Regions from separate parts of the Homo sapiens genome. Here all the other regions are linked to region 1. Evidence: promoter capture Hi-C in 16 types of primary human blood cells and fetal thymus (Javierre and others, 2016). All regions are on one chromosome and are shown on one strand. Each heading gives the region's core, a stretch centred on a gene start or on the middle of the fragment in contact. The rest is flanking DNA. Distances are from core to core; before and after follow the strand shown. Region 1 holds the start of WNT16 (Wnt family member 16). Region 2 overlaps LOC124901733 (a long non-coding RNA gene). Region 3 overlaps ING3 (inhibitor of growth family member 3). Region 4 has its middle 190 kb from the start of FAM3C.

Region 1 (6,000 bases), core at 2,373-4,872:
AGGTAAGTACAAAACTGACAACATGTTTAGGAGCCATTGCCCACTAAAAAGTCGATTTAAAAAAATATCATAAAAATTCAAATTGGGGGAAATGAAATTTGACTCAGTTCTATTAGAAAGGCAGATACTGTAGACCCTATTCTGACTCCACGACTAAGCGGGTAGAACCAATGAACCCTACAGGCATTGTGCATCTATTATATTATATCAAAGTTTTAGATATACACAGTATACAACCACAAACACATGCTATAACACGGTTTAACTCATATCAGTTAGAGAACCAAAATTGTGGTTAGTATATATTCATGAAAGGGTATATACATATTTGTATAATACACATTTGTAATATATGTGCAAATGTGTATACACACACACACACACGTATATTTATTCTAATCAAAGCCTCCTATTCATCCTCTTACCAGAGAAGGAATTTTTCAATTGCTTACCATGGATGCTTTAACGCATACATATTTAGAAAGGATAATTTTCTATTGCTGTAGTCTTTTAAAAACAATATTAATTTTCAGGATCCCACTTGAGGGCTGCCAGTGTTTGGTTTTTAAGTCATTTGGACAGTTTCATGCAGATGTGTAATCCTAGTTATTTACCTAACAGCACTGGGTTTTGATTATTCCATTTTCTAATACATACCTGCCTTCCAGCTTCATTGTTATGTAGGTTCATTGCTAATAGTACTTTGTTTTCTTTGCCCGTGGTGTTTCCGATGGGGAAATCTAGGAACTTTCTGCTGAACCACATGCCATACTGGACATCATCGGAGCAGCCCCCCCAGTGCCAGCCTTCACTTGCTGAGCCGCCGTTCTGCAAGGTGGTGTCACAGGAACACTCTGTCATGTTGCCTGCACTGCATGACCTGGTCACAGAATGCACCAGGCCTGCAGCCATCACAGCATAAATAAATGCTGTCTCTTTGGTGCCTAGAAAAAATATAAATTGCTAAATTAGAGAACCAGGCAACTTCTGTTTATGTTCAGAAGAAAGCCTCCTACTCATGATCTTACTGGACAAGTAATTTTTCAGTTGCTTACAATGGATGCGTTAACGAGTACATATTTAGAAAGGAAGATTTGCTCTTGTTCTAGTCTCTTAAAAAGCAACATTAATTTTCAGTATTCCACTTGAAGAGATTGTCATATACTGTATGGTCATACATTGTCCCTTTACCTTAAAATCATCTCTTTATTTTTTAAATTTGAAATGTATGTTTGCACCCAGTTCAGTGCACAGTTGACAGTCATAGCTCAGTAATACATGCTGAATTAAAAATTCTTTGCATAGATACTGTAAACGGTAATACAACACCCAAAGAACACTAGATTGCTTTTCTTTTGAAATTTAAAATGTGCTCTCACAGAACACAAGCTGAACATTTTGGTGTGATTTTTGTTTGCATAAATAATACGTGTCAGAATGAAAATTAAAATTAAGGAAAGACCAAAGCAATTAGTAAACGGTACCGTATATTTTCACATTAAAGATTAGTCTCACATTAACATGAAACAGTTAAACATTTTATATAGTATTAGCTACTCCTCTTACAGTCTTAAAGGCAATGAAAGGTAAGATAATTAAAATGTCACTAGCAAAAACATAATTCTATTAAAAATATTGAATATTGAAAATTATGCATTTAGCACACCTGCAGTAGAGTTTGAGCTAAAATCTTTGAAAATTAAAGTCCATTAAAACATTAATAACATGGACTAGAAGGGAATCAGCAGGCGACTTTTTTTTTTTCTTTCCAGATGTTTAGTTTGGAGTAGAAACAGTTTCATGCCCGCTGTCCAATAAACCTTTTCAACAGCTGATGCATTTCAGCAACTGTGAAAAACACATCTATTTTTTTTCTTTCTGTCTCTTTTTTTTTTTTTTTTTTTTTTCTCTCTACGGGGACCAGGGCTCCTTCGGAAGGGCGTGCCGGCCAGAACGCCGCGGGGGAGGTGCGCGGCTCGGCGGGGGTGCGCGCAGGGACTGCGTGGACAAGGGTCAAAGGCGGAGGGGGAACGGAAATGAACATGAAAAACGACAGCGCATCCTTCAGCGCCCCAGTCCTAACATTCTTTGGATCTGTTGATATTCCAGGAACAATCCTGGCTCCCTGTACCTTTATCCTTACCAAGTCACTACGCACGTGGAAGTGGAACTTTGTTTTCCTGCAGCTTCCCGCGCCGCGGGAGTGCGCCGAGGAGGGAAAGATAGAAAAGCCAAAGAAACGAGAAGCGCACAAGTGGTCCTGCTCAGGTTAGCCGCACGTTGGGTGGTCGCGGACAGTCGCTTTAAAAGTCACCATTATTCTGTCAACTCGGTGCTCCTAGGAGCCAATAAAGGTGGGGCTTCGCTGCAATTAGCCACTTGTCCGGGGTTTGGTGCGCAGCGGAGTTGGTTAAATCAAAGCAGATGCGGCAGCCGCATTCCCCGCTGCCGACATCATGTTTCTCCAGCTGGTCACCCACGTAGGGGGGCGCTACGGGGTCCGAGGGGGTCGGCGGGGTAGGAGAATTAGAGTTTTTTTTCCAACTCTGGCGGGGCACCGCAGGAAAGAGGAAGAGCTCCAGCCCCTAGAGCTCCGCTCTGGAACTGGGGAGTCACCTCCCTCCAGGCTCGCACCTGCTCCCCAGGTCTGGCCTTTGTAGCTCTCAATCCCCGTGCACTAAAGGGCTTCTTCTGGAACTTAGAGAGCTACAGGACCACGTAGCACTATTTACTTTATTTGCAGGAACCGGTGGAGGAGTTGTCGCCTTCCGTCCCCCACCAACCCCTAAGGACCCAGGACTCACCGCTGCTCAGCTCGTAGCCAAAGAGGGGGCTGGCGCCCATCGGGGCGGTAGTGGCGGCGGCGGTGATCATGCAGTTCCATCTCTCGTGTCTGAACTGGCTCCCGCACTCCTGAATGCCCAGCCGGGCGCCCTCTCGGATGCTCGGCAGCAGGTACGGTTTCCTCTTGCACAGCTCCTTCTGGCGGCTGTTCAGCGGCAAATTGGCGCAGCCCAGCTTCTCTGGAACCCCGAAGGAGGCAATGCCCAACCACCTGTAAGACACGGCCGCCCGTAGCGTTAAGCCGCTCCCCAATTCCAGATGTTTTCCGAAAAATTAGGTCACTCGTCTAAGGGTCCCCGCCCTTCTCCCCCAGCCTCAGTTGAAAGTTCCCTAGGATTGGGCACCCCTTTTGCCACCTACCCGATGCTTCCCTGCCACCTCCATACTCACATCCAGTTTCCTTGGGCTCCGTAGGGGAACAGCACGAGCAGGGCTGCCCACAGCGCGCACAAGCGGGCCAGTCCCAGGAGCGCCGCCCTGTCCATCGCCCCCGCATGGAGTCCCCCAGCCCAGCCGCTCCTCTTTTGCACCCCCTCCCCAGAGGCCCTTCGGGCCGCAGGTCAGTTGTCCAGCACCAAGTTATCCCTCGCCCTCTTCCTCCTTGCATACAACATTAAAAGGCCAGCAGTGATAGGGACTCTCAGCAGCTTCCCCCTCGTTTGCAGGGAGCTGTAGGAGAGATGGAGAGAGCAGCCTGGGGATCTCCTCCTGCGCAGGGGTGGAGATGTGCAGGAGATGCGGGAGCGCCCCTCGCATTCCTAGGTGAGAAACTTCTGTTGATGTATCCGCGTCTCCATCGCCCCCGGCCTCTCCTCCCATCTCCTCCCCCTGGCCGCGCCTGGAGCCTGATTGGCTGAGCAGCGGCCCCGCATCTCATCATCTCGGGACCTCAGGCTCTTATTGGTGGAGAGCGGCTCCGCGGGGGGCGCTCCGGGCACTGGCCTCAGGGACAGCGTGTCCAGACCTGGGTGTGTCATGACCTTTCCTGCTGTCACAGTCTCCTTAGAACGGGTCGTTGTGGGGTTGATTCAACCCGAAGACTAACAGGACGCTCTGTCTTAGCAACCTTGGGGGAAAGCGTGGGTTTGATGAGTCCCACCCATCCCACCAACATCTGGGTTACCCTCTGGGTGTAGTGGCTGGAAAATGTCACTGACCTTTTTTTCTTCTCCTTCACCTCACAGGAGAATAATCTTTTTGAGTCAGAGTTGGTACCGAACAAATTAACCTTCCAGTCCCCTGCTTGAGGTCCCACTGTCAGGAGACTTTAGAGAGTGGGTGAAGTGCTGTCAGGCTTACAATCACTGTCATTTATGTATGCATTTATTTTGAGCGAAAGAGAAGATTCCAGTCTAGCATCTCATCTGCCATATTTCAATCGTGCTCTGTGATTTCCTTTTCCCTATTTGTCTTATTTCCTGCAGTCCCTGAGAACGCTGTAAGTCCCCTGCAGAAGATGGGGACAAAGAAAGTGAGAGGTTTCTGGAGAGTTCTAGAGTACATGAGAGATGTGCTCTGATCTTTTTCTCCAGTCCTACCTTACGATTCTCATGGTGGGAGGGTCCCTGCCCTTCTCCCCCAACCTCAGTTGAAAGTTCGCTAGGATTGGGCACCCCTTTGCCACCTACCCGATGCGTCCCTGCAGGACAGGGCTACACATGGAAGACACATTTTTAAAAACGTACTTATTAAATACCTGCTGTGTGCCTAGTCCTGTGGGAATTTATAAAGACAAGCTCTCTTCCCACAACTGTACAAATAAACCATACACAAGTGTAAAAGAAAATACGTTTAGATGATCAGTAAGAGAGATTAAAGAATCTAGCAGGGTACTCCCTGGAGCCGAAGATAGTTCAGAAGCAGGAAGTGTTCCAGTTACTGGCAGATTTGGAAGGTTAGTTAATCAGTGTTTTGTAGGATGGAAGGTCTCCGAGAGTTATCTGAAGGCAAGTGCAACGTGTTTAGCTGTGGTATTGGGAAAGCCTGCCTCACCTAATTAGACACAAGAAATGTTTCTAAGAAGCATTATCTGTCCTTAGAGATCTTTTGAAGTGTTAATACATTCCCATGGTGGACGTATCAGCTCAGTGGGTACCCAAAGCCAAAATTACTTAAATAAAGGATTTGGGGCCAGGTGCAGTGGCTCACACCTGTAATCCCAGCACTTTTGGAGGCCAAGATGGGCGGATCACCAGAGGTCAGGAGTTCAAGACCAGCATGGCCAACATGGTGAAACCCTGTCCCTGCTAAAAATACAAAATTATTTGGGTGTGGTGGTGCATGCCTGTAATCCCAGCTACTCGGGAGGCTAAGACAGGAGAATTGCTTGAACCTAGGAGGTGGAGGTTGCAGTGAGTTGAGATAGCGCCACTGCACTCCAGCCTATGGCACACAGTGAGACTCCGACTCAAAAAAAAAAAAAAAAAAAGGATTAGATAGCATTAGCTGCTTATCTCCTATATCAATCAGTGAGCAATAAAAGCTCACTGAAATTTTCATCCTATCCCATTCACTCCCTTATCCAACAAATGTTTATTGAGTGTACACTATGTACCAGGTTCTAAAGCCACATTTTAAAGAGTCGAGGAGTCAAGTTGATGATAGGATGTAGATACTGATCCAGAAATATTTTGGCTAACGGCTAGTGGCCTCTCTGAAAGTCAGAGCCTTCATCCAAGCTCACTTTATTCTGTGAGCTTCTCCAAGAGGGACAATGGCGGATTCATTGCTGTACCCCTGCCATTGGGCCTAGTACATAAGATCCTGTTTTTGAACAAAATTTATTGAGTGAATTAACAATGAGGAACATCCTGAGTGGATATGTAAGAGGCCTAAATGCTGGAACTACAGTTTTTACTTCATTTCAAGGGGAATTGGAAGTGGGGAGGCAATCTCCGGGTTGGGGGTGCTGGACAATATCCATACCTTAGGCTGATTTTAGGGCCAACGGTGGTAGATGTTTTAAAGAGGTGTTTGATTTTTTAAAAAATCAAAAACATATATTGAGTCTCTGTTATGGGTTAGAAAGTGGGGATAGCACTTACTCAAATGATCATGGAATTCACAGTCTACTTGGCAAGACAGACAAGGGAGCATGCAGCTATAATACGTGCAATAAATGTACAAAGTAGAGTGTGCTGTGAACACACAAAGGAA
Region 2 (6,000 bases), core at 1,141-3,640, 470 kb after region 1:
TGAGCAACATGATTTTGGTAGCTATATTCTCAGTTTTTATGTCTCACCCGAGGAAGAGCTGTTGAGACCTAGTTAATTAAGTCAACATATGGTCAGCCTTGCAGCCCAAGCTGGCTGCTGCCATTTTTTAAGCCAAAGTGAGAACCAGCTCATCTCCATTTCGGCAGAATTGGTAAGATTCTTCTCTATGAACCAGTGACTCGTAAAACACCACCAATATAAAACTCACAACAAAATGTATAATTTAATTTCTAGCAGTCATTTTGGAAAAATATGTATGTTTCTTAAATCAAACATACTATATCCCAAGTATTTTCTCTAGTCAGTTATAGGGAATAATATTGCTGATAAAGCCAAGAAATAGATGAAAATTATAGAAATATGTATAGTCAATAAACTAACTGTATGAGTTATTTATGGGTGTCTTATGTTGCTGACATGATATATCTTCCTTTATTGCTGTGAGTAGTAATCAATCAGTTAACATTGCTTTCTACAAAAGAAAACTAACCATACAAAGATAATAGAACATAACGGCAATTGCTAGAAATAATAATTCTTTGCAGCGAAAACAAATGCATTGAGAAGAAATGCATTCTTCTAGAAGAAACCAAGGACACTAACTTTTTTTCTTTTTCATCAGTCAATCATTTCTACATTCAAACCATGAAATTTGAAATGAGAATTTACAACATCTCCAGTTTTCCATACATGGTTATTGCTAGTATACATACACACAAATAATAATCAAATGGTTGTTTTACACGTGGTAGGATGAGGACACTTGTGAGTTCGGATTAGCCAGCTAGAAATAATTTTAAAAACAAAAGATTTTATCTAGTGTCACAAACAAGTGTTTTATTTAGTACAGCATTGGAGTAAGCTGGAAGTTTTAAAACACACCAAGAAAATGAAAAGAGCAGCAGGCGAAGACAAATATCTAATATTCTTGGTAACTATTTGATTATCTTTCCCCAGTTGTATTGTGGGTGTGACAAAAAGCTGATGTAGTGGAATAACAGTATAATTCCTGAGGGATCTTTCTGAGAAAAGTAGAAATTGGCAGCTGTTTGTAAATAGACGTGTATTCCTTCCTTTTCCTTACATTTTGTTTCAAATAACTGAAAATTAAGAGAAGAGTTCTTTGTTATTGTTGTTGTTGTTGCTGTTTGAGAGAGAGAGAGAGAGAGAGAGGGTCTTGCTCTGTTGCTAAGGCTGGAGTGCAGCAATGCAATAATGACTCACTGCAGCCTCGACTTGCTGGGCTGAAGAGCTCCTCCCATCTCAGACTCTTGAGTAGCTGGGACTACAGGTGGGCACACAGCATCTGGATAATTGTTTTTATGTTTTGTAGAGATGGGATTTGCTATGTTTCCCAGGCTGGTCTCCAACTCCTGGCCCAGCCTCCCAAAGAGCTGGGGTTTCAGACATGAGCCACCAAGTCTGGACAAAAGATCTCTTATATTCTATAAATTTTGCTTTCTGAAGAGGAAGCATGCTAATGAAGTTATAAATTTTTGAGAGCCAAAATTATGGTAGAACTCTTGGTATCTCCTAGCACAGTTCTGAGTTTGTAGTAACAATTCAATAAATATTTATTAAATCTGTGGGTGAAGTGAGTCCAAATTTCTAAACTTTGCATGAAGGTCAGGTTTCAATAAAGTTTAAGAGAAAAGTTTTCTAGGATTTCATAGGAGGGTACTGATTTGGGCACTTCTTTAAAGAATTACCTGGTGTGTAAATGCAAATGACGATGCTGAAAGTAAGCTTATGGCATGGGATGGAAATGATGTGATACGAGTTTTCTCAGGGTCCTTTGCTATTGCCATGAGGTTCCTGCTTCAGTGGTTCTTTCAATAACTAAGAAACTTTGCTAAGTAGTGCCCCAAAATGGTTGGCTGAGAGCTGGGTTGTCCTAGCAGTGAACAGGAGAGAGGATGGTACTATGCCTTCCTTTCTCTATCCCTCAGTTCAAATAAAAATCTGACTGTGTTCAGTTATCTACCTTCCTCTCTTTGGCCCTGTGCTTTAGAGAAGGGCTGTCCCAGGCACAGGTAATACATCTTGATTGGTTTAAAACCTGGCCAGTCATGGTGGCTCACACCTGTAATCCTAGCACTTTGGGAGGCTGAGGTGGGTGGATCACCTTAGGACAGGAGTTTGAGACCAGCCTGGGCAACATGGTGAAACTCTGTCTCTACAAAGACAAAATTAGCACGACGTGGTGGTGCATACCTGTAGTCCCAGCTTCTCGAGAGGCTAAGGCATGAGAATCACTTGAACTCGGGAGGCAGAGGTTAAGTGAGCAGAGATGGAGCCACTACACTCAAGCCTGGGTGACAGAGTGAGACTCTGTCTCAAACAAAACAAAACAAAACAAAACAAAACAAAACAAAACAAACCAGTTATGGTAGAACCATAGTTCTTGTGAATAATTGGTAGATATATGAGTATGTGACCAGGTTCTAGCCAATCAATCAAAGGGATAATCTGCTGCAGAACTCCTGGGAGAGGTTTGCTAGATCCTAAGAGAAACTCATAGGAGAAAATACCTTCTTCCTTTGGAAGTAATGGTAACTGAAAATGATGCTTGAATTTGCACAGCCATCTTGTGACCATAAGAGGAGGTACCTGAGTATAGTATGATTACTCATTGTGTGTGTCAGGAGAGTAAGGAGGAAAAAGAACTGATTCCTTGATATCACTACTGGGCAGATGAATCGCTATTCCTGGACTCATTGTTATGTGAAACATATTTGTTTTTGTGGCTCTTTGAGTGCATTTGCTAGTTTGCATAGGGAGGCCAGATTCAACTAATACAAATGTAGGGTTTGCAATTCAATTTGAATTTCAGGTAGACATTGAATAATTTTTTAGTATATGTATGTCCAGTGCAATATTTGTCCCATGCAACATTTGGGACATGCCTATACCAAAAAATAAAAAATTGTTGTTTATCTGAAATTTAAATCTAATGAGGTGTCTTGTATTTTATCTGGCAATCCTAAGCTTACAGTAGAAAGCAGTCTACTTAATTCAGTAATGAAAGGATTTTCTCAGGTCTTATTAGGTCTGTATACTCTTTTAGAAGTGAGGTGAAAGTAGATTTACCAGTCATAGTTTAAGTACACATATTTGAATTTCAGCTTCATATTCTCGAAAACTAACTTTAAAAAGTTCGAAAATTTTCCTCTTAAGTCTTGTCCAACCAGATTTGAAATTTTATTGTAATGCAGATAAACAGTGGAAAGAATCAGACAGATCTTAGAATCTCAGCTTCTTTATTTACTACCTGTGTGGGTCTGGCAAAAATCAGCTATCTGAATTGATTTCAAGTATCTCAACATATAGTTATGAGGAATTAATAAGATAAATTGTGAGAAGCACCTATTATGTCAGACACATGTAATTTGTTCAAAACACATTAGGTGTCTATCCCATATTAATTGTAAAGTACTGGCTTAGGAGTACTTGTGAGGGTCTTGTACTAAGAAGGAATAGCAACTCATACATCCAAACTCCTGTGTTATCCTTTTTCTCTCCACAACTTTAGCAGAATGAATAGAATAAGATATGAACAAACAAGCTGCCATACGGAGTGAGGAACTTGTATTCTCTTACATATAGCTGAGTTTTACTCCTGACACTGGGACTGACATGTATGTGATTCCTTGTAAATGCTTATTTTATTACTTTTTGATGTCATTATTATTGTTATTATTATTATATAATAAGAAAGGATAGTTTTGCCTTTTCTTGGAGGGTAAGAACTTGTCTTAGTATCTTCAGCATGAGGCACAGTAGATACCACCACTGAAATGATACTTATTGGAGAACACCTGGCCACAGAATTGGGTTCCTGACTAATGGGTAGTAAATAGACCATACAATTTTCCTAATATGTTATTACATATTCAAATTTTTATGTGCATATTATGATATTTCTATCCTCCTTTTGTTCACACACACAAAAAAACAGATCTCACAGAGAAAAATATAGAACCCTCAGAATGACAGCTGCGATGTGAAGTCTTACTGTGCTTCCACAATTCTGGGAAAGAGAAGAATTGGAGAGGGAGGGAAGAACAGCTGCCTTCAAGTAGTTGAAGGGCTGTCATATGGGAGGAAGGCTTGCTCATGCCATGGACTCCAAGGGCGGAACTAAGGTTGAAGGGTAGAAGTTAAAAGGTGGTATGGTCAAGTTTAAGCAATAAAAACTGCCCATTACTGCAATGTCTCAAATGTGGTGAGGTCTCCTCTACTGAAATGTTGATTCACTGTCTCTGATGACCATTTATCAGGAATATTAGAGCAGTAACTACAGCTCTGTTTTCTTCTTAACTTGTAAAATGGGGATAATAATCCCAATTTATCGACTCACAGGAGAGGGATTTGATCCAACGAAATCTAAAGAGACCCTTTTGCTAGTTTTTAGGCAGCTGTAAAGCCCTCGTTGCAGGGTTTTCAAATTTTGCTGCAAACTAGAATTACCTTGGGAGCTTGGAAAACCCTGTGTGTCTAGGCCTCACCTGCAGAGACTCCGATTTAAGTGGTATCAGGCATGCCAGAGAATTAGGGTTGTTTCAAAGCTCTCCAAGTGATTCTCGTGTACAACAATTTCGAGAACCATTAAACTAGAGTACTAAGAGCCATTATTCTGGATTTTACTTTGGAATCTAGGTTGGACTACAGATGTGACGTTGAGCAACTACTTTATCTTGGATCTGTATTTCTTGTTTACCAGGAAGAAGAGGACATGCATACTTCTAAAGTAACTTCCTCTAGTATTTTATTACTTTAAGGCAGTTGACCCTTAAAGGTATACGAATTAAGGAAAGGGCACTTAACTACCTTCTAGGAGTAGAAGAGGATCTCTGCTTTGACACATGGGAATTGTTGGCACTCTTTTTCTCAGTTTTAATAGCAGTCATGGACTCCTTTCAATGCGGGGATGTTTATACCTCTCCGGGGAATGTATGGCACCAACAGCATTTGGATGGCTGGTTGTTTCAGCAGTCCTTTGCTTAAAATAGGCATGCACCCTAATTTGAGAAGAAACTGGCAGAGGATAAAAGTGGGTTTCTTTGCTCTTCCCCAGTATTCTAGAAGCTGCTTCATTATCAGAGTTGGAGTCATCTGATGGATAACTGGACATGTTTCTTGGTGTTTTTTTTGTGTATGGCTATACTTCTTTATACTCTTTTGGGTTGCTGTCTTACATACTGCTTAGTGACTTGCTTACCAATAATTTTCCTAGCCTAACCCAGGACAACCATGTTGTCTTTTGGTCTTGACTTTTCCATATGAGACTGCATGTCTTATTGTCACTCCAGTCATGCAGCAACTAACTCTAGACAGGCAGTCATGGACATAGGATTCCATTTTTTTTTTTTTTTTTTTTTCTGCAAGGAAATCCAAGGACTCCAGTTATTAGGTCAAAGATGTTGCTCGTATTCCAGGTAATTCATATTTGCTGGTGAAGTTTTATTTGCCATGCAGTGCCCACAAAAGTAATCCTAGAAATGAGCAGTACTGTGAGGCATAGCACAACACATCCACATTTTATGTGGAGGATATGATCCAGTGGCATTTTATTTAGTGTGAAACTTCTGTCTTCTAAAAGGGAAGATTCTTTTGGAAGGATGGTCTCCTGCTGTGTAATACTTCATGAATTTCTAGTTTAAAAAAATTAGATTTTCCAAAGATCCACTACTATGTACACATTTCAAAATAAATCACCCAGTTAACTCAAAACAATCTTATCGTGAGAAATTTTGGAAAGCTTGAGTTACTTCTAAGAGTTAAAAATGTTCTTTCCTCCTCTTCTGCATGTCAGACTGCACATGATTACTCTGATGTTTCCGTAAATGCTATTAGTGCACTATGAAAGTGGGAAAGAACTTAAAAAAAAAAAAATCCGGGAGGGCAACAAAGCAATAAGAAGGATCATAGGGCACCATGTTAATAACAAATCACAGGAGGTGGCTCCATAAAGGTTGT
Region 3 (6,000 bases), core at 2,510-5,009, 370 kb after region 1:
TTTTATTTATAATACTATTTCCCTAGTTAACTTGGCAAAATTTTATTTTGTCACTGAGAGATCTTTTGACTAATTTCAGAAAATTATATGACACTTCAAACTAACAAAAAATGTCTTAATGTATTTTTTAAACTTAATATTAAATATTTTAATATTTTTTCAAACTCATTACTTTGAAGTGAAACCAAAAAATACACAAATTCTTTGAAAAATATTCATGTCACATTATTGATAACATCCTTTTCTAAGTCTAGTTTCCCACTGGATTACTGCTAGAATTAGAAATAACTTTCTTACAGATATCAACATGTGCTATGATACTCTACCAGGGCAACATTTTAAGTAAGGTTTAGAATTAAATAATGTGTAACTAACATGAGGAAGAAGGGGAGAAAGGTAGCAAAACACAATGTGCATGGGTTAGATGCCTATGAAGAGGAGGTAATGTGCTTGACGCATCAGATGACCTATCTTTTCTAGCCCTCGATCTGATCTTTTGAAGTTATTACTGTCTCTACTTTATAGGTGAAGAAATTAAGGCTCGGAAGGGTTACTTAAGTAATATGCCCAAGGTCATATAGCTAATGCATTACAGAAACCAAATTTAACTTTATTTGTAACAAATTCTGCTTTGCCATTTACCTGACATTGACCTCTGAACTTTCTGCATGCAGAAAACAACTGTTTTTTTTTTGAAAAACATTCTTCAGAATAATATAACTCAAGTATAAAAACTAGTAATATTGTCCTATTATTTGTATTTTATATATTAACAACAATCATTAGGGTGTTGGTTTGTGATTTTTTCAAAAACTGAAAGCCAGTTTTCCTTCTACCTTTACACACACATTACTTTTCAGAGTTCTAGAATATTTAAAAACCTATAACATCACATATTATGGATACTTGCTCCTATTCAAAGAATCTGCAGGTAATTGAGCATCCTTTAATGGAACTTCCTTTCCAATAATAGTGTGAACACAGACGTCTGTTATTTGAGCATACCTCTTTCATTGTCAAAATTTAATCTCAAGGGAAATCAGAAAAAATATTCATATTTAAGTTCCAAGACCACTAATGCAACGAAAACACTCCATTGCTTTTTGTACCTACAATTATACTAATAATAAATATTGAGCTATTACGTGCTTGGTGCTGGATTAAATGGAGGATATATGAAGAATGGAAGAGAATCATTGCCTTCATAGGAATTAGAATTTAGCTGACAAATCAAGATTTATATATGATTTTTAATATAATAAGGGATAAAAATATAGTCTAGATGTCACAAATAAGCAACAGTTCAAAAAGAGTCAGAAGTTGTACATAAAAAAGTAACACTGGTAGACACGAAGGAGGTACGAATTAAGACGGTGAAGATGGATTGTATTCAAATAGAAGGAAAAAAGGAATCACAATAAAAAATGTAGAGACAGAAAGACAAACAGTATGCTTAGAGAAAAACAAAGTATGATGTAGCGTGTAATATGTATATAAAGCACAGTGAGCAAGAATGTTAGGTTGAGGGGGTAGTGTTAGGGTGAGATAAAGACCTTTCTTTTTCATACCATACACCTTGCCCTAACTCACTTCACCTCTGCATTTAAGGATTGTTTCATTTTATTAAATATATTATTGATAAAGTTCACTACATATGAAAATGTTAAAAATAATGACAAGACTTTCAATACTAGATAGCTCAGAAAAGGCACTAGAACCTAAAGGGTTAATAACTCTAAAAACCAAATTCATAGTTAAAATAAACAAAGACAGAAAAGCCTTAACCACTTGTGGTAGGCATCTTTATAAGACGGCTTCCAATCATTCTTACTTCCTCATATGTAAAAGAGATTATGACCTGATTAATATTATAAGCAATTATTAGGCAATGAGCATTATTTTTCTTCTATTTACTACTGCTGTACTAAATCAAATTAGAAGTTGGAAAGTCCCATTGACCACAAGAATTAACTTAAGCTATAAAGCACTAGGATATTTAAACAATATTAAACAGCCATAATAAGAGCTGTGAACTTGCCTGAAATCCATCATGTGCATTCCCTCAACCTACATGATTCTGAACGGTTACAGCACCTCTTCTAGCTGATCACCATGTTGTCCCCACAGGCATCAAGCAAAGCAAGGATGTAAGTTACCTCACCCTTCCACAAACATCTGCTTTCATAAGACTGATTTACAATAGTAAAGAGGGTACTGATCCAATTGAGAGATTTTCCATTAGCCACAGATTCCTAAAACAGGGCTAACCACAGAGTCTAATTATTTCTTTTTTTCCCAGTTAATGTCAACAAGTGCTATAAACAAAGTTTCCTTGCCCTATAATCCCAAATCATATTCTACAACCCCAAATCATAACAGCTTTAAGTTTAAACTCCTATAATTTTTCTAGCCTCTTTAAAGACAAAGGATATTCTACCAACATTACTTGTTAACACACTCATGATCATAGCAAATTTAAGTCATACTTGGCCCCTCTGCACAAAACAAACAAAAAATCCTTCATCCTATAATATTTGCATAGAGTTGTAATCTTTGACTCTTTCTTTTTTGACTCTCTGGTTTTCTAATATTCACATTTAAAGTGTATCACTAATGGACCCAAACAAAACTAAATACAGCTTTTTTAAAGTCTCTACATGATCTACTGCTTCCAATACAATCAATTTATAAAATTTAGATGTCTAGCTTGCCCTATCGGAAGAGGCAATCAAGTCTGTTACATTCTAAGTTGAAATAGACAGCAGTAAGTTAAATTTCTAACCATGAAAAGGTCTAGTAATAGCGAGTAAAGAGGGTAAATTGGGGAAGAAGAAGAAACCATGATAGCAAAGTATTTCTCAGATAACAGGTCATGAAAATGATTCTTTATATCTCTAAATTAGATTTAAACTAGATGAAAATGTGACCTATTGTTATGCTGAAACAAATACTTGAGAGGCCTTAGCATATAACTCTGTCTAATCATCTTCCTGAAAGACAATAAGGACAGGACAGAAATCAAAAGGTCAAACTCACATATTTCCTTAATTAGAGTATCAGATGAAAACTCTCAAATTTATAGGTAAAATGTGCATCTGAAATATAACCATCTCAGGAACAGGCCAGGATATAAAAAAAGAAGCAAGTTCAAGGGTATTGAGCACTGCAAGAGACTGCTAAAATCATTCAAGCATTAACTAAAAGCTCAAATTTTATCAGGGTATGTATAAATCAACTTTATTAGGTATTGCAATCCAATACATCCTTATGACAGTGACATCTGGCTGAGAAACACAAATAAGTATTTAACAACTATTTATGAGTATCATGCTTCTAGAACAAAACTATTTTAACAGGATAGATTTTTGTGTGTGTTAGTCAAATTTCACTAAAACGGCTACTAAAATAAACTGTCAGTTTCTTCTACCGGAACCCTAAAACAAATTTCTTCATTGATAATATGTTGATAATATGTAGTTTGGTTTATTCCTTAATAAATGAGGTGACCAGTGCAGTGATGGTCACAGGAAAAAAAATGTTTACTACTGGTTTAAAAGTAAATAAAATATTTCAATGAAAAAATACAACAAAATGCAACGCCATATAAAACACTGAGGGATAAAATCAAACATAATTGCATACTATGGTGATGTACCATAAATTCTGTAAAAGTAATACATGCTTATTTAAAATTCCTATAATATAATGTTTAAGCAAAGGCATACCTACACAAAATCTCTTTTAAGGTCTATATTCCACGCCTCTGTTTAAAGTCCTTCACTGGCTTCCCACCGCTTTAGACTAAGAATCACTCTCCTCCTAGACTGGCTCGCAAGGCCCCCATGCATTAGCTCCTGCCTGCTTCCTTTCATGCTGCTCCTTTCCCATTACAGACCACAGACCAACCACCCCGGCCTCTCTCTTGGTTCAACTTGCCAAGTCTTTTCCACTCCAAACTTTGCCCTTGGTATACCACGTGCCTGAAACATTCTTTCCTTAGCTTTTCCAACAGGTGGTTCTTTCTTATTTTCCAAGTACCACCTCAAACGTCATCTCCTTAGACTACATTCTTAACAGCCTTCGCCAGTTATTCAATTGTCTCTCCCTTTCTCCCCCTTCCTCTCTTTCTACAATGTTTATTTCCTCCTGTGTACTTATCGAAATCTAAAATAGTCTTTATTTAATAGTTTGCCAGGCCAGGTGTGGTGGCTCACGCCTGTAATCCCAGCACTTTGGGAGGCCGAGGCGGGCGGATCACGAGGTCAGGAGTTCGAGACCATCCTGGCTAACACGGTGAAACCCCGTCTCTACTAAAAATACAAAAAATTAGCCGGGCGTGGTGGTGGGCGCCTGTAATCCCAGCTACTCGGGAGGCTGAGGCAGGAGAATGGCATGAACCCAAGAGGCGGAGCTTGCAGTGAGCCGGGATAGCGCCACTGCAGTCCAGCTTGGGCGAAAGAGTGAGACTCCGTCTCAAAAAAAAAAAAAAAAAAAAAAAAAAAAAAAAATGTGAGGAAGTGACAAGGAGTATAGGGTGACTTTCAGTGCCCTAATCTGAATGACTACAAGGTCAGTGTGGTTCATGTGAGATTTAGAAACAAAAAGTTGGTGATGGGGCAGGGGAGGGTAGTTAGAGAAGAAAAAGGAGATGCTTTGAGTTTTAAATTTCAAAACACTGAGTTCTAGGGCCTGGGAATAGTCAGCTAAGATTAAAAGACTCAAAGAAACAGCTTGGGCTTCAGGAATAATTAACGTATAATTGTTAACACTAAGAGAACACATGGAATTGCAATAGAGGAGTGTCTCTCAACTTGGGTGGTGTGCAAAGGTTGGGGATAAAACTTGCATTTGAAAGAACAGGTCTTTACGCTGTGGAATTTGTTCTTCCTGGCCCTCTTGGCAGGTAGAAGAGGGGAAGACAATCACCTTCATGTGAGAACCACTTGAAGAGTAAGAAACCATGTAGGTCAAGGACAGAACCCTGAGGAACACCATCATTATGAGCTGTACCCAAGAAGGAGACTAAGAAAGGTCACAAAGGTGGGAGCATCTAGAGCAGGCAGTCACATGGTAATACAAGGTCAAGAATGGCAAGACAAAACGAATGGCAATAAGCATTAAATTTACCAATAGGGTCAGTTAAAAAGAATTGAAGCTGTCTGATGAATTTAGCAATAAAGAATTCATTAAATGAAGTTATAGAGGATTAGTAAATAGAACCCCAATTGCCATAAATTTAGGAATAAATTGAAGGTAAGGGAGTGTCAAAGAGTCTGAATGAGAAATTAAGGAAGACTACACTAGCTAAAGCAGAGTCACGGTCACGACACGATTTATATTAGATTGCCTGAGTTCTTTTTAAATATGAGGAAGACCTGAGCATGTTTAAATGCTGTGGTATAGAAGCCAATAGAAAGAAAAGAGGCTAAAGATGAAAAAGAGAAGGCATAAGTGATGAAGCAAAGATGCAGCAAGTAAAAACATGCCCTAAGGCAGCAACAATGTGGAAGGTACCTGTAAGAAAAGTGGTCAAGAGCTCAACCAGTCTCTTGATTGAATAGGAAAGGGCTGATAAAATAGGAGGAAGTGTAGACGCAAGAAGTATCAGAGGCAGGGCAATTCCAAGTGATGATCAGGTTCAGTCTGTGGCGACTGAAGTGGATTAGCATTTACAAAAGCCAAAGAAGTAGATGACTAGGTAGTATAAGATGATTGCAACAGAGAACTGTGAACCGGGTACCAGTTTTTCAATCTGAGCCTCACCTAGAAGCCATTAAATTATAGTGATAAGAGGCAGAGGGTAACTGAGATGATTATCACTAAGTCTGAAAGAGAAGGGATTTTTTATATTAAGGATATAATGTTCACCTGAAATAGGATTAAAGTATTTAAAAAGAAAGGCAGGGAAGGAGAAAGGGAAAAAGAAAAAAAATAATAAAAAGGAAGAGGGTAGAGCAAAGGTGGGGGCAGAAAAGAAAGGGTGGGGGAAGAAAAAGAAGA
Region 4 (6,000 bases), core at 2,025-4,524, 260 kb before region 1:
TGCAATATTTGAGTTTATAAACCGTGTACACGTTCCTACATTTTCACAAAATTAAAAGTTTTAATTGAAAATGAGAAATAACGAGCAAAAAACACAGATACATATTTTGGGGAAATTATTTAGGGGAAATTTTTCTGCTCCAAGCTTTCTAAATGTGAAGTATAATTAGTTTGGCTCTCCTCACTCTACCTCATTAAAAACGGAGTTCTGGCAGTTATATCAAAGTGAGATATGGGGCTGTTATGAACTGAATGCTTGTGTCCCCCACATTTATACATTAAAGCCCTAACCCCAATGTGATGGTATTTAGATATGGGGCCTTTGGGAGGTGCTTAGGTTTCCATGAGGTCATGAGGGTGGGGCCCTATGATGAGATTTGTGCCCTTATGAGGAGAGACACTAGAAAGCTTGCTCAGCCCTTGTGAGGAGAGACACTAGAAAGCTTGCTCACTCTCTCTCCCTTTCTCCCTCCATAAAGAAGTCACATGAACACACAGTGAGATGGCTGCCATCTACCAGCAATGAAGAGAGCCCTCGCCAGAAACAGATGGTGTTGGCACCCTGATCTAGGACTTTAGAATTGTGAGAAAATAAACTTCTGTTGTTCGTGCCACCCAGTCTTCGGTATTTACTTTGGCAGCCCAAGCCAACTAAGACAGGAGCCCACAGGCAGGTGCCATTATATGTTTGATCAAATGTGTCATAATAATAGCTATCCAAAATGTGTTTTCTTTCAGAATTGTATACATTTTAGCAAAGGAAAGTAACAAATTAACATTAGAAAAGCATTGCGATCTCAATATCTATCAGAAATATTGCCTCTAAAAAAGCATTAAAACGACTGTCAACGTTTTAAAAAATATAACACAAGGAATATGGTATTCTAGCATGTCCTTGGCTAAATTATGGTAGTTGTTGAAAAATGCCCCCTTAATACTGGTTACTACATCTCTGACCAGCTAAGGAATACACATTCTTCTTTTGTTAAGTTGTCCTGTGCCCAAAAGATAGGGTCAACACCTTCAAATGTAAATTAGTCTACCAGTTAATTATCTCATTGTATCAAGATTTGGATCAAATAATTTCCAGAGGGAAAGAAAAGATTGGCTTGATTCTGTAAACCACTGATGATATTGAAACTTGAAACTTGGTTTTACATTTATTTATTTATTTATTTATTTATTTATTTATTTATTTATGTTTTTAACTCTGTTTCTCATTTGAATATCCCTAGTGAGAAGTCTGACCTGGGGTAGCATGTGTGGAAATAAATACTACAAGCTTATTTTTACTGTAATTCAAACTTGGTTAAAAATTTTAAAAAGCATAGATCACAAACATAATGATAGTTAATGAGAAAACTTGAAATATGAGAATTCAAAGTACTAAGCTGGTCACGAAGCTGTAGTAAGGATAAAAAAGAGGCAATATTTATATATTAGTTACCATAAAGTTATAAACAACATAAAAAGCACCCGGAGGCAGGTCTAAATTCCAGTTTTATTAAAATTTATTAAACTGGAATATCATGTCATCCTGAACAGAGTTTCTATGTAGCTTGTTTATGAAGAAGGATGCAAGGAGATAACTTTGCCATGACACCCTGGCAGTCTTGTACACATCCATCTAGATGAACACTTGAACTGCAGCTTACCTGTGTCTGGGCAGAACACCTTGTGATCCTCATGTAATAAGAGAGGATGGAGGGTCTGAAGCCACCTCCTACTCACCTCCCTATCTCCTCTGGGAGACTCTAATGACAAGAGTTTCTCATCAACTCCTAGACTTGGAGGAAGTATGGGGCCTTCTGTTCCACCGTCTCAGAATGAAGCTGCAGAATATAAGGCCACTTCTCTGTGGTCTAGAATTGGCTCCTCAACTATGGGTGCCTCACGACTCACAGTGCAGCCATCCAGCCCCTTTGATTTGGGTGGTGTTGGGGTTTTATTGTTTGTTTTTGGTTTTCTGGTGTGTAAAACAAGGATCACAGGGAGCTGGCAATTTTGGCATACTCTCCTCTTCACTGTTTATGTAAGTTACAAACTGTCTAAATCTAAGAGTGGCTCCTTGTATCTTTACCCAGCCAATGAGTCGAGCCTTGAACTTGACCTTGCCTTGCTTTGTGTTTGTAACAAAGAAGCCATCAAAATTTTTCTAACTACAAAAGCATTTTAGTTTTGTTCATATGATTTACCTCTTAAACTTAAGGTTGTGCTACCTCAAAGCTTCTTTATTAAAAATTTTATTTTGGTAGAATATTTGTTATAGAACATTGTATTTGCCTATATGAAATGATAAACTATCTATGAGAGGAAAAAATGCCTATATGAAATGATAAATTATCTATGAGAGGAAAAAATTCACTATGAGAGGAAATAGTTAATTAATTCAATTAACTAATTGATTAATTAATTAACTAACCTTGTGATAATGAACCTATGGACTGATGTCCTTATAATTAATCTCACTGCTTTATAACTTGAGTAAATTCTACTGCTACAGAGGGAATTTTTTCTAGACTTTCTTTTCTGGGGATTGAGTAAATAAAACAAATGATTTTACCATAAATCCAGTTTTCAAAACACCATAGAAATCTTCACTTTTTCACATGCCAGCTTGACTAAACAGACTTTAACTAAACAGTAAGAAGATTCAACTTGAATTTTTGAATTAGATAGTGGGAAGATGCAATACAAGGGACAGGAATCCAATCCTTGAATGTTGATGAGTTTTCTTGCTGTGACTAGTTTGGCAGATGAGAAATAGTTGCAAAAACTTCAAGTCGGTTAATGCAAGACTATCTGATTATTGAATAACATACTGAGGATGAGAGGGGTTTTTTAATGCTTATCATTATCAATTTAATTTGCATTTGCTATATTCACTATTTTCTTCCAAACATAGAATTTAAACTGAAACCATAGGCTAAAGGAGGCACAGCACCCTTGAGTTAATGCAGAAAACATTATAGAGATTGCTCCATCTATCTACAATTTCTCTGTCTGATATCTACCCATCAAAGTGATAAAATATTTACATTCATCCATCAATTCAAACAACATGATTCCCTTACCTCCTTGTATATATTCCTATTCCCTTACAAAATATGTAAGTTATTATTATTTCAAAGTGCTTATAAATACTAGCAGTTCTATTTTTGTTTTATGGGAAATTCTACTTTAACACCATGGAGTAAAATACCTGACAAAATGATTGTAGAAACCAATTTGCATTCAGGAAGGTCGATGAGCTATGTACTTGCTTGCACCTCTGAGATAATATCTGTTGCTGAATCCTCTTAAGGTATGTAAACCAAAAGTATCTGAGATAGGCCTTAAACAATTTGGAAAGTTTATTTTGCCAAGGTTAAGGATATGCCTGTAACACAGACTCACAAAGTCCTGATCTGTGCCCAAGGTGGTTGGGGTTTTATACATTTTAGGGAGACATGAGACACCAATCAATACATGTATCATGTACATTGGTTCACTCCATAAAGGTAGGACAACTCGAAGTGGGGTGGGGGACCAGGGGGTGGCTTCTGGGTCACAGGTAGATTTTTAAATTTTCTGATTGGCAATTGGCTGAAAGAGTTATTATCAATAGAAAGGAATGTCTGGCTTACAATAAGGGATTGTGAAGACCAATGTCTTATACAGCAGATGAAGCCTACAGGTAGCAGGCTTCAAAGATAATAGATTATAAATGTTTCTTATCAGACTTAAAGAGGCTGGTCTATTAGTACTTCCAAAGGGGAGGAGGATATAATGAGGCATGTCCAAGTCCTCTTTCCCATCATGGCTTGAGCTAGTTTTTTCAGGTTAACTTTAGAATGCCTTTGGCCAAGAGGAGGGATCTATTCAGATGGTTGAAGGACCTTAAAATTTTATTTTTGGTTTACATTTGTATGGTTCAACTTCTTCCTTCTATCCACCAAATCTACAACAGCAAAAATCCATCCAGATGCTATTTTTTCATCCTCCACCTGTTACTAGGTAGTGAAACCCAAAATAATATGCACATTTGGGAATCAAGAGAAATGTCGAATCTATATGAAATGATAAACTATCTATGAGAGGAGAGAAAAGTCAAGAGAGAAGTTGAATCTTCCCAGGATCCAAAGAAATTCTAGTGCTGCATGTCTTCAAGATGGTAATATACAGACTATTCCAGTGTCAATCGAGGCTTAGAAGTGACTGTCCAAAGCAACTATCACATAAAGAAGTAGTTTTTAAACATCCCCATGCACTCAGAAATGAACCAACAAAAAGTAAGACAAAATGAGAAACATTGCTGTGTGTGAAATGAGGGATTTGAAGCTTTAAGGAATTCTATTAATCCAATATTCTGTCACTCAACCATGTTCTTTCCCATTTTATAGCTTTAGCATTAAGTTAGATAGGAAGGAAAATTAATCCTGGGTATGGCAGGGGAAAAGTTTTCTAGGTTATTATTTGCAGGTCATTTAAACTGTCTATACAGATGATTAAAATGAAGTCTCTGGCCTAGAAAGAAAAACCTATGTAAATGAAAAGGCCATTGACTCCTCCTCCCCAAATAGAAGTAAGAAAGAGAAAGGAAAAGGAAGAAGAGGAAGAAGTAACTAAGAGCCTAGAAACATGAGAAACAGGTAAATGTGGGATTAAAAGAAGCCAGAATTACAATAATAATTCTTAATATTTAGCCAAGGCTTCTGTAACACTACCATATTGCAAAACATGTTGGGCCTAGTACCTTACTTAATATATGGGAGGCATCTATTGGCTCCTTTGTAAAGAAATTGTCTCCAGTCTGCACAAATGCACCTTACAGTGGAGACAGAAGTTGAAGCTTGATCTCTGACTCCAGGGCCAGTGGTTTGGAGTTTATAACTCTGCAAGTGTTTATAATCTGGAGCTTTAAAATCTGCCACACTGATGGCTTGATTTAAATTAGCAACCCACCATGATTGCTGTTGGGAGCAATCCACCACGGGTATTCTCTATTCAATGAGCAGCCAGTGAACTCCAATGAATTGTGAGGTTTTGGCCTGTCACTGGCAGTCAGAGAGCAGGGACTCTGGCTCTCATGTGGCCACAAGGGCTAGAGGGAAATGTCCTTAGGCTGTTCCCACATAAAAATCTGTACTTTTTTAAGGGAAAGAAAATACCAATATGACAACAAATGAAGTGGCGTCGTTGTCTAGGGTAAATACCCGAGGTTTGTCATCTCATGCCAAGGGAATTGAGACACAGACGCACAAGAAGTGAGATTAAGAGCAGAGGTTTAATAGGCGAAAGAAAGAGAATAGCTCTCTCCCACAGAGACAAAGAGGCGCCCCCGAGTGGGTCTTCCAGTTCCATGGTGAAAAGCACAGGGTTTTCTTGTAAATTTGTTTGAGTTCATTGTAGATTCTGGATATTAGCCCTTTATCAGATGAGTGGATTGCAAAACTTTTCTCCCATTCTGTAGGTTGCCTATTCACTCTGATGGTAGTTTCCTTTGCTGTGCAGAAGCTCTTTAGTTTAATTAGATCCCATTTGTCAATTTTGGCTTTTGTTGCCATTGCTTTTGGTGTTTTAGACATGAAGTCCTTGCCCATGCCAATGTCCTGAATGGTATTGCCTAGGTTTTCTTCTAGGGTGTTTATGGTTTTAGGTCTAACATGTAAGTCTTTAATCCATCTTGAATTAATTTTTGTATAAGGGGTAAGGAAGGGATCCAGTTTCAGCTTTCTATATATGGCTAGCTAGTTTTCCCAGCACCATTTATTAAATAGGGAATGCTTTCCCCATTTCTTGTTTTTCTCAGGTTTGTCAAAGATCAGATAGTTGTAGATATGTGGCATTATTTCTGAGGGCTCTGTTCTGTTCCATTGGTCTATATCTCTGTTTTGGCACCAGTACCATGCTATTTTGGTAACTGTAGCCTTGAAGTATTGTTTGAAGTCAGGTAGCGTGATGCCTCCAGCTTTGTTCTTTTGGCTTAGGATTGACTTGGCAATGCAGGCTCTTTTTTGGT

Evidence for each region. The method cuts DNA at HindIII sites, captures the fragments that hold promoters and counts their contacts. A CHiCAGO score of 5 or more calls a contact.
Region 2: a fragment that was not itself captured here is called in contact with the fragment with the promoter of WNT16 in region 1 in 2 of 17 cell types (naive B cells and total B cells); the score reaches 5.1 in naive B cells.
Region 3: a contact is called between a fragment that was not itself captured here and the fragment with the promoter of WNT16 in region 1, in 2 of 17 cell types (naive B cells and total B cells). The highest score is 8.9, in naive B cells.
Region 4: a contact is called between a fragment that was not itself captured here and the fragment with the promoter of WNT16 in region 1, in 5 of 17 cell types (naive CD4 T cells, naive CD8 T cells, total CD8 T cells and 2 more). The highest score is 7.9, in naive CD4 T cells.

What each region holds. Positions count from the first base shown.
Region 1 is chr7:121,326,622-121,332,621 of GRCh38, reverse strand. It overlaps WNT16 (Wnt family member 16), which reads right to left and starts at 3,622. Exons shown (of 4, transcript NM_057168.2): 1 at 3,235-3,622; 2 at 2,805-3,055; 3 at 658-944. The coding sequence starts at 3,329. The HindIII fragment of the contact is 8,913 bases long and covers 1-6,000 here.
Region 2 is chr7:120,858,440-120,864,439 of GRCh38, reverse strand. The region is part of intron 1 of LOC124901733 (a long non-coding RNA gene); the gene reads right to left. Among named protein-coding and RNA genes, the nearest start is that of TSPAN12, 3.3 kb to the right of the region's middle. The HindIII fragment of the contact is 1,242 bases long and covers 1,770-3,011 here.
Region 3 is chr7:120,958,139-120,964,138 of GRCh38, reverse strand. All of the region lies in intron 4 of ING3 (inhibitor of growth family member 3), which reads right to left. Among named protein-coding and RNA genes, the nearest start is that of ING3, 10 kb to the right of the region's middle. The HindIII fragment of the contact is 9,620 bases long and covers 1-6,000 here.
Region 4 is chr7:121,586,698-121,592,697 of GRCh38, reverse strand. No RefSeq gene overlaps it. Among named protein-coding and RNA genes, the nearest start is that of FAM3C, 190 kb to the right of the region's middle. The HindIII fragment of the contact is 2,094 bases long and covers 2,228-4,321 here.